Linked DNA regions of Homo sapiens: region 1 is linked to region 2. The links are contacts of gene promoters, found by promoter capture Hi-C in human tissues and cell types (Jung and others, 2019). All regions are on one chromosome and are shown on one strand. The core of a region is centred on a gene start or on the middle of the fragment in contact, and the rest is flanking DNA. Distances in the headings are between cores, read along the strand shown.

Region 1 (4,605 bases), core at 1,317-3,816, 600 kb after region 2:
TTCTCTCCTACCTCCCACGTCTTTATCTGTCCAAATCCTTGCTATTTCCCAAGGCCCCTCTCGGTTGCGTTCTTCTGCAGGGGATTCCCCCCACTTCTACTTCAGGAAACAACCCATGCTTCCTTTGAGCAGCTCACATCTAAGCGTACGCTCTGTGCCAGTCCTTAGGTAAAATGTTTTACTTTGTGCCGGGAGCGGTGGCTCACGCCTGTAATCCCAGCACTTTGGGAGGCCAGACGGTCGGATCACCTGAGGTCAGGAGTTAGAGAGCAGCCCGGCCAACATGGTGAAACCCCGTCTCTACTAAAAATACAAAAATTAGCTGGGCGTGGTGGTGCACGCCTGTTATCCCAGCTACTCAAGCGGCTGAGGCAGGAGAATCACTGTAACGCGGAAGGCGGAAGTTGCAGTGAGCCGAAATTGCGCCACTGCACTCCAGCCTGGGTGACAGAACGAGACTCCGTCTCAAAAAATAAAAAATAAAAAATAAATGCTTTATTTTGATTATCCCATTTAAACCTAGAAAACTCTCTTGCTGCTTTGGGAGCAAAAAGCCTGCGCTCTGGAATCTAAGAAACGTGAATTCAAATCTGTCCCCTGCCATTGCCTTTGGTAAATCGCTTAACTTCTCTGAAGCTCAGATGCCTCAAACGACTTCTTCCCGCGGTGTGTGTCAGGGGAGGTTGGGGAGCTGGGGTTGTGAGCAGTGTGGGTCTAGCACACTGCAGACGCTCCGCAAACGGTCAATAAACGCTGAGGGGCCAAAAGCCACTCCTCAGGACGCGCGGCGGAGAGACCTAGCCTCACCCCAGCCTCGCCCCGCGCAGTTGTTTACAAGCGCTCGCGGCGGATGAGCTCATACGAGTGGCGGCGGCGGCCAATAGGCTTTGAGCCCCGCGGCCTGGAGACAGCCCTGGCCAATCGGACGGCGCGGAGGCGGAGCGGGGCCGGCCGGCATCGCGCGGCCGCACGTGCGCCACGAGTGTCTCAGCCGCTTCCTGTCAGCGCCAGGAGCGGGGATTCCCGGGGTCCCGGGCAGGTACCTGGACAGCGCAGGTCCTCGCAAGGCCGTTTCTCAGGGACGCCGGCCTCGCCACTGACGTAGCACCAGGGCCCGCGCGGGTCCTCGTCCGGGTTTCGGCAGTAACTGTGATTGCCGGCCCCTAAGAGAGGAGAGAAGGAAATGTGTGCCGGGGCTGGCACCGGGAACGCGGCCGCCGCCCGCCAGCCCCGGGGCCGTCCCCCGGAGGACACTTACCCGACACGGGGGCCGAGGCCAGCCCGCTCTGCGCGTCCAGCCAGTTGAGGCAGCGGAGGCCCGGCGCGGGGGAGGTCTGGTCCTCCCGGTACAGGTGGCCGTTGTCCCAGAAACAGCCTGTGAGGAAAAGAAGCCCCCGGACACAGAATAGCGGGCAGCGAACGGAAGACGCCCAGCGTGGCGGACAGGGGAGCCGGGACCACCCGGGCTGAACCTCAGCCTGGTTAGGGGACCCCGGGCCCTGCTGGGCCTCCCTCTCCTCTCGTGGCAACACCCCCACGCCCCACGCACCCCCCCCCCCCAACTCCACGCACACCTCAGGGTGTGAAGCCCCCAGCCTGTGCCTGTCCCCCAGTCAACGCTCAGAGACTGTTAGGTTTTATTTATTTTTGAAACCTGGAAAGCGCTGCAGAAGTGCAAAGCGTTGTTACTCTTGAACTTGTGACCACTTTGGAGGAGGAGATGGAGAGGAGGAGGCCTGGCTTAGGGTCCCTTTGAGGAGCTGGGAGTTTTGGGACGGGGGGCGCCCAGACGTGACATTTGTCCCTGTGTTGTAATGGCCACGTTACATAAACTCCGGTGTTTCCTCCTTCACGGATACGGCCACCTTCTGCCCGTTTAAAAGGCAAATACTCCCTCCCAGGAGAATTCTCCAGGAGCCTTGACTCCGTCAGGCAAAAGATTCAAGACAGCCTCAAACGGAGGAAACCGGCCTCATCGCTGACTGGATGAGACTCCAAGCTCCCACTCCCCTCTGCAGGAGAACCACAGAAGGAGGCTGGGGAAGGAGGACCACACCATGCAAAGGGCTTAGAAAGAACAGGACTTGGGGAGTAGGGGAGATGAACCCCCAAGCTCCATCCACTCATGAGCAAGGAAAGGCAGAGAGAAAGTGGCTTCTTGCCTTTGTTCTTAATGGCAAAGATGGAGCTGCAAGCCCCTGACAAGGAAAGGAGGGGTGGAAAAGCTTTCACGGGACAACAGAAACCGGCTAAACGCTTCGTTTCCTGTCATCCTGGCCCTGTTTGGGAAATAGGGGGCTTTACCCCTTCTGTTTCATGAAGTTGCTGCGGAAAGGAAAGATTGTAATCTCACCTCCAGATCCATAGGCTTCTGCTAGGAGCATGTTGCTGACGAGGAATGCTTGTACCCAGGCCAACAGCATCCTTGCCTCCTTCGTCTTGCAGGTGATTGAACGACCAGTGTTTAACCGAGGCCCCCTTGGCGGCGGCTCTGCCTCCCAGTCCCAGCCTTGCAGTCAGACCTGCCCTTGTTATGCTGTTCTGGTAAACAGCCTCTCTTTAGAACTGGGAGCTTCCCAGCTAGCTTGCTGCAGCGCGAGCTGTTTTTCAGCTGAAAGGCGCCCCCTGGGTCCTAAGCCTCCTAGGTCATGCAAAATCTAACTGAGCCAAGAAAGGAACTCAGCCAAGAGATATGCAGGTTGTGCTTAGCAGCCGATCAGTTTGAGACCTGCGAGGCCGCATCCCCAGGGTTTTTCATCTCTTCTGTTTCCATTTGTGTGAGTACAGAAAAAATAATTCTATCAAGGGGCATCATGGGATGTGGGAAATTATAAGCACTAAAACACAGAACAACTTAGGGAGCTATGCACCCAGGAGGAATTCATGACCACATAGGGGGGAAAAAATAAGAGTTTCTGGTGGGGAGTGGAGTAATAGTTTTTTTTTTTTTCTTTTCTTTTCTTTTTGAGACAGAGTTTCACACTGTCGCCCGGGCTGGAGTGCAATGGCACAATCTCGGCTCACTGCAACCACCTGCCGGGTTCTCGCAATTCTGCCTCAGTCTCCGGAGTAGCTGGATTTTTTTTTTCCCTCACTCTATAGGAAATCCATTTGCTGTAATTTATATCCATCATTAAATCTCACCATATCCATTTGACTTAGGCCTTTTGGAGTTAGGCAGAAGGGCCCTTCTTCCTGTTTGGCTGACAGCTCCCAGGCAGCCTCAGTAAACTGAGAGAGAGAGCAGAGTGATTCGTCAAGACTACCTTGTGACAGGGGCACACCACCACAACCCAGCTAATTTTTTGTATTTTTAATAGAGACGGGGGTTTCACTGTGTTGGCCAGACTGGTCTTGAACTCCTGACCTCGTAATCCACCTGCCTCGGCCTCCCAAAGTGTTGGAATTACAGGTGTGAGCCACCGCGTTCGGCCGAGTAACACTTTATACCCATCCTTGAAAAAGAAAAAGGGCCTTTATGAACACTGACACTTAAAAAAAAAAAAAAAAAAAAAAAAAAAAAAAAACAGTGTAACTTGGCCAGGGTCAAATCTGTCACATTGCTTTTTCTTACATTTGAGGTTTTTTGGGGTGTTGTATATAGTAGGACTATAGAAGGAGTATCTTTAGTTGAAAACACATGTTATGCAAACATGGAAAAATTTGCTCAGCTACATTGTAATAGTCTACCCTTTCTGCCAGCCCTAAATTGTATAGAGGAATTTAAGTAAAATGTTTGCTTTTTTTTTTTTCCCTCACCCTATAGGAAATCCATTTGCTGTAATTTATATCCATCATTAAATCTCACCATATCCATTTGACTGAGGCCTTTTGGAGTAGGCAGAAGGGCCCTTCTTCCTGTTTGGCTGACAGCTCAAGTTCCCAGGCAGCCTCAGTAAACTGAGAGATAGAGCAGAGTGATTCGTCAAGACTACCTTGTGACTCAGTCAGATCCCAAAATAGAAATGGGGAAACTCTGTTTCAATCTTGCAGGCTGTAATTTAAGGAGGAAAACAACTAATTTTTTTTTGGGTGGGGGGGACAGAGTCTCTGTCTCCCAGGCTGGAGTGCAGTGGCACCATCTCGGCTTACTGCAACCTCCACCTCCCAGGTTCAAGCAATTCTCCTGCCTCAGCCTCCCAAGTAGCTGGGATTAAAGGTGTGCGCCACCACGCCTGGCTAAATTTTTTTTTGTATTTTTTTAGTAGAGATGGGGTTTCACCATGTTGGCCAGGCTGGTCTCAAACTCCTGACCTCAGGTGATCCACCCACCTTGGCCTCCCAAAGTTCTGGGATTACAGGTGTGAGCCACCATGCCTGGCCACTTTACTAAATAAATTTTAAAAGCTTTATCAGGGAAGAAAACTAGTGTCAATTCAACTAATCTGAGGTGAATCTGAATTCACTACACTCATAGAAAGGATAGAGAGATACATTTAATTCACTCTTTAAAATAGTTTACTGATAATGTTTGATCCCTTTCGTCCATTTAATAAGATAGATTGCTTTGTTTTTGCAATCACTCTCCTATCTCCCCACCCAAGCTTCTGATCCTCTGACTCTTGACTTGGTCTACCCTGTGAATTACACCCTAGAGTCTGTAAA
Region 2 (4,007 bases), core at 1,054-3,553:
CATCACTGCACTCCAGACTAGGTGACAGAGTAAGACACTGTCTCAAGAAAAGAAAAAGAAAAAAAAAAAAAAAGCATGTTCTTGGATTCCACCTCTGACTTACTGGGGATGGAGAAGTGAATTTCTTTTTCTTTTTTTTACTAAGATGGAGTCTCTCACTGTCGCCCGTGCTGGAGTGCAATGTTGCGATCTCGGCTCACTGCAACCTCTGCCTCCTGGGTTCACGCAATTCTCTTGCCTTGGCCTCCCGAGTAGCTGGGATTACAGGCACACACCACCACACCCGGCTAATTTTTTTAATTTTTAGTAGAGACAGGGTTTCATTATGTTGGCCAGACTGGTCTCCTGACCTCGTGATCTGCCTGCCTCGGCCTCCCAAGGTGCTGGGATTACAGGCATGAGCCACCGTGCCCAGCTCTGGAAAAGTGTGTTTCTAATAAACCTCCCTGGGGTGATTTTAACAATTATCATCATTATTTTGAATCGGTGAAACATACACACAGTGAAACATACACAGTAAAACATACAAAAGGTTCAAAGTGTGAGTGAAAAGCAAGCATTCCACCTCATTTCTCAGTTGTCCAGTTCTGTCCCCCACTACACCCCAGAGGCAATCACTTTTCCTTGGGGGGACTCACCATGCTGAAGTTTGAGGGTCACCGTCATACATATGAGATAGACCAAGATGGGGGGCTCTCTGCACTCCAGAGCTCACAGCAAAATTGCAGGTAAGACCACCATTCAAAGACAAGTGCCTGAGGAAGGGGTCTCAAAGTCACCAGCAAAGATGCCAGCGGCTCCTGCTCAGTGCATGTCTGCACCTCCTATTTCTAGGACCTTCCAATCTGCTTCCTTCTGGGGACCACTTCACGTAGGAAGCAGTCCCTACACAGGTTATCTTGTCACAAGCAAAGATCAGGAATGGATAGGTGGGTAAGGGGAGAGTAAGACGTGATGGTGAGCTAAGAGGAGTCTGCAGAGAGGTCTAAGCTTGAAAAGTCTGGACAGAAACCCAATGTTCAGTCTTTCCATTTGTATTTCTGATTATTTGTAGTAACCATCAACTTTCGTCATTTGGATAGATTCTTAAGAAAAAAAAAAAATCACTGATGGCTGGGCACAGTGGCTCACGCCTGTAATCCTAGCACTTTGGGAGGCCGAGGCGGGAGGATCCTGGCCTGAGGTCAGGAGTTCAAGACCAGCCTGACCAACATGGTGAAACCCCGTTTCTACTAAAAATACAAAATTTAGCTGGGCATGGTGCGGGCCGTGGAATTCCAGCTACTAGGGAGGCCAAGGCAGGAGAATCGCTTGAACCTGGGAAGCGGAGGCTGCAGTGAACCAAGATCACGCCACTGCATTCCAGCCTGGGCTACCGAGTGAGACTCAGTCTCAAAAAGGAAAAAAAAAAAAAGCGGAAAAAAAAATTCGCTGATGTTTTAACCATTCTGGGGTCACAGCCTCCTTTGTTATGGACCTACTCTGGAAAAATGCACAGACAGGTAAACCTCTGCGGAAGCCTCACAGACTGCCAGCCTACCCAGGGATCCCGGGAGGTCCAAGTTCAGAATCCCACTTTGAGATGTTTCTTGTACTAAAACGCTTGGTTTACAAAAAGTCTTCCCCTATTTGTTTAGAGAACCCGAACGATGTCGTCACTGGCAGCGAAGCGCCTTGGCATGAACCGTAGGCCAGCTGGCTCAGGAGGTGGAGGCGGTGAGGCGGCCACTTGGGGCCACCGCTTCTGGCGGCCGCAGGAGCGACCCACAGACAGGTAATGGCTGCCATGGGGGGCGGGGCGTCGTCTTTAGCCTTTAGCGCCCCTGTGCTTCGTGCGCATTTCGTGGCCTCTGGGTGCCGTACCTGCTTCCCACCCGGCTTTCCTGGGTGGCGGAGAGCGAACCCACCCCAGCCTGGGTTGGGGGAGGGGGCGTCGGCGCAGGGTCCCGTGGGCAGAGCTGCGCTGGGAGCTGGCGGGCTCCGCATTCATCATTGTTCCTCCAGCGCCTGGCACGGCTGGGCCGAAGCAGAGACCGTGGCCTGAAGCGCGCCATCCCCTTCGGAGTTGACCGACCACCAAGCTCTTCCGCCCACAGGTGTTGTCAGAGCTCCTTCCACCGGCCGGACCTAGGAAGGACCCAGGGTCCAAACATGGCCCGAGGCTGGCCGAGAGCACAACAGCCGGCGGGCGCTGACGGGCACGGAGCGCACGGGACCGCGGAGGAACCCGCGCGCGCCCCCGCCTCGCGCCGCGCGCACGTGACTGCGCCCCCGGCCCCGCCCCCGGCCTGCCCCCCGCCCCCACTGGCCGCTCGGCCGCGCGCGGGTCGGCCGGCTCTATGGGGAAAGCGGCGGCTCCGAGCCGAGGCGGCGGCTGTGGCGGCCGCTCCCGCGGGCTCTCGTCGCTGTTCACGGTTGTCCCCTGCCTGTCGTGCCACACGGCGGCGCCGGGCATGAGCGCTTCCACGTCCGGCTCCGGGCCGGAGCCCAAGCCCCAGCCCCAGCCCGTGCCCGAACCGGAGCGGGGACCGCTGTCAGAACAGGTGTCGGAGGCAGTTTCGGAGGCAGTGCCAAGATCGGAACCTGTGTCCGAGACGACGTCTGAGCCGGAGCCAGGGGCTGGGCAGCCATCGGAACTGCTGCAGGGGTCGCGGCCGGGGTCAGAGTCAAGCTCAGGTGTAGGGGCTGGGCCCTTCACTAAGGCCGCATCGGAGCCGCTCTCCCGGGCGGTGGGGAGCGCGACCTTTCTCAGACCCGAGTCAGGATCGCTGCCAGCGTTAAAGCCCCTGCCTCTTCTGCGACCAGGACAGGCGAAGACTCCTCTTGGGGTTCCAATGTCGGGGACTGGCACGACCTCCAGTGCCCCACTGGCCTTACTGCCTCTGGACAGCTTCGAGGGCTGGCTTCTCAAGTGGACCAACTATCTGAAGGGCTACCAGCGCCGCTGGTTCGTGCTGGGCAATGGTTTGCTCTCTTACTACAGGTATGGAAGCGCCAGGGTGGGACATGGGGGTTGGAGGGTGGTGATGCTGCAGGGATGGTGATGGAGGGCCTCCATGGTTGGCGGACACTGCCACTAGTCTAGAGATGTTTAGGGGCATGCATTCCAGCAGGCCAAGTCACGCTTCTGGCCCGCCGCCAAGGGCCGGGGGCCCTGACCTCTGGCAAGGGTGAATGTGATCTGCGGACATGACCTCTGGCAAGCTTGGGTTTTTGGGCAAGTGGGGAGGTGGAGTAAGGGAGTGATCTGGGGCCTCAGTTCCCTTCTGCTTGGCAGTTGTGGGGCTTGGGGCAGCTAGCTAGAGTCAGCCCCTCAAAGTCCTTGCCCTTTCTGGTTCGGGAGCTAACATCATTGTGTGTTTGGGATTGAGGGAGAGAGTCACCTTGTTCAGTCCTTAGGACCCACACTCTTAGGAAGGGCTGCTTATTCTTCCCGCCTGGGGCAGTTACTCCCACCTTTCCTGATGCCTCTGGTTGCCAGGCCTTGGGCTGGGCACCACAGACTCACAGATGTATTGGACACGGTTCTTGGCCTTCAGGAGTCCATCTTGGCATTTTGCGGAGAGCTAGGAAGTGTTTTGCTGCCCTCCTTTCTTATTCCAGACCCAGCACGGGATTCAAAATTAAAGTCCAGTGGTGAGAGAGCTAACACTGTCTTCCCACTGAAACTGGTTGAAAGGAGGTTACTGAAGCCTCCCTTTGCTTTCTTACTGGCTCTTCCCTGGGTCTGCTTCCTGGGGATGGTTGGTTTAAGCCTTGAGAACTCAGATCAGTCTATGCCAGTGGTTCTCAAACCTGAGTGTGCATCAGCATTCCCTGAAGAGCTTGTTGGAACACAAAGTGCTGGGCCTCCCCAATGAATTTCTGTTACAGTGGGCCTAGGGGAAGGGCCTGAGATTCGGATTTTCTAATAACTTCCCAGGCGTGGCTGGTGATGCTGGTCCAGGACCACACTCTGAGAAGCACTGTTTCATTGCTGCACACAAAAGGACCTTGACTTGCTGTTG

The links. Contacts are between HindIII fragments. The study calls those that stand out against the background at their distance.
Region 1: the fragment with the promoter of PIK3IP1 here is called in contact with the fragment with the promoter of OSBP2 in region 2 in 1 of the 25 tissues and cell types used here (dorsolateral prefrontal cortex).

What each region holds. Positions count from the first base shown.
Region 1 is chr22:31,289,922-31,294,526 of GRCh38, forward strand. It overlaps PIK3IP1 (phosphoinositide-3-kinase interacting protein 1), which reads right to left and starts at 2,567. Exons shown (of 6, transcript NM_052880.5): 1 at 2,354-2,567; 2 at 1,259-1,375; 3 at 1,044-1,163. The coding sequence starts at 2,423. It overlaps LOC105372997 (a long non-coding RNA gene), which reads right to left. Exons shown (of 4, transcript XR_001755493.3): 3 at 3,809-3,900; 4 at 3,023-3,231. RefSeq lists enhancers at 560-759, 1,900-1,949 and silencers at 810-1,039, 1,220-1,339. The HindIII fragment of the contact is 5,590 bases long and covers 1-4,605 here.
Region 2 is chr22:30,692,571-30,696,577 of GRCh38, forward strand. OSBP2 (oxysterol binding protein 2) reads left to right here and starts at 2,304. Exons shown (of 14, transcript NM_030758.4): 1 at 2,304-2,983. The coding sequence starts at 2,340. RefSeq lists silencers at 1,977-2,056, 2,441-2,490. The HindIII fragment of the contact is 4,458 bases long and covers 29-4,007 here.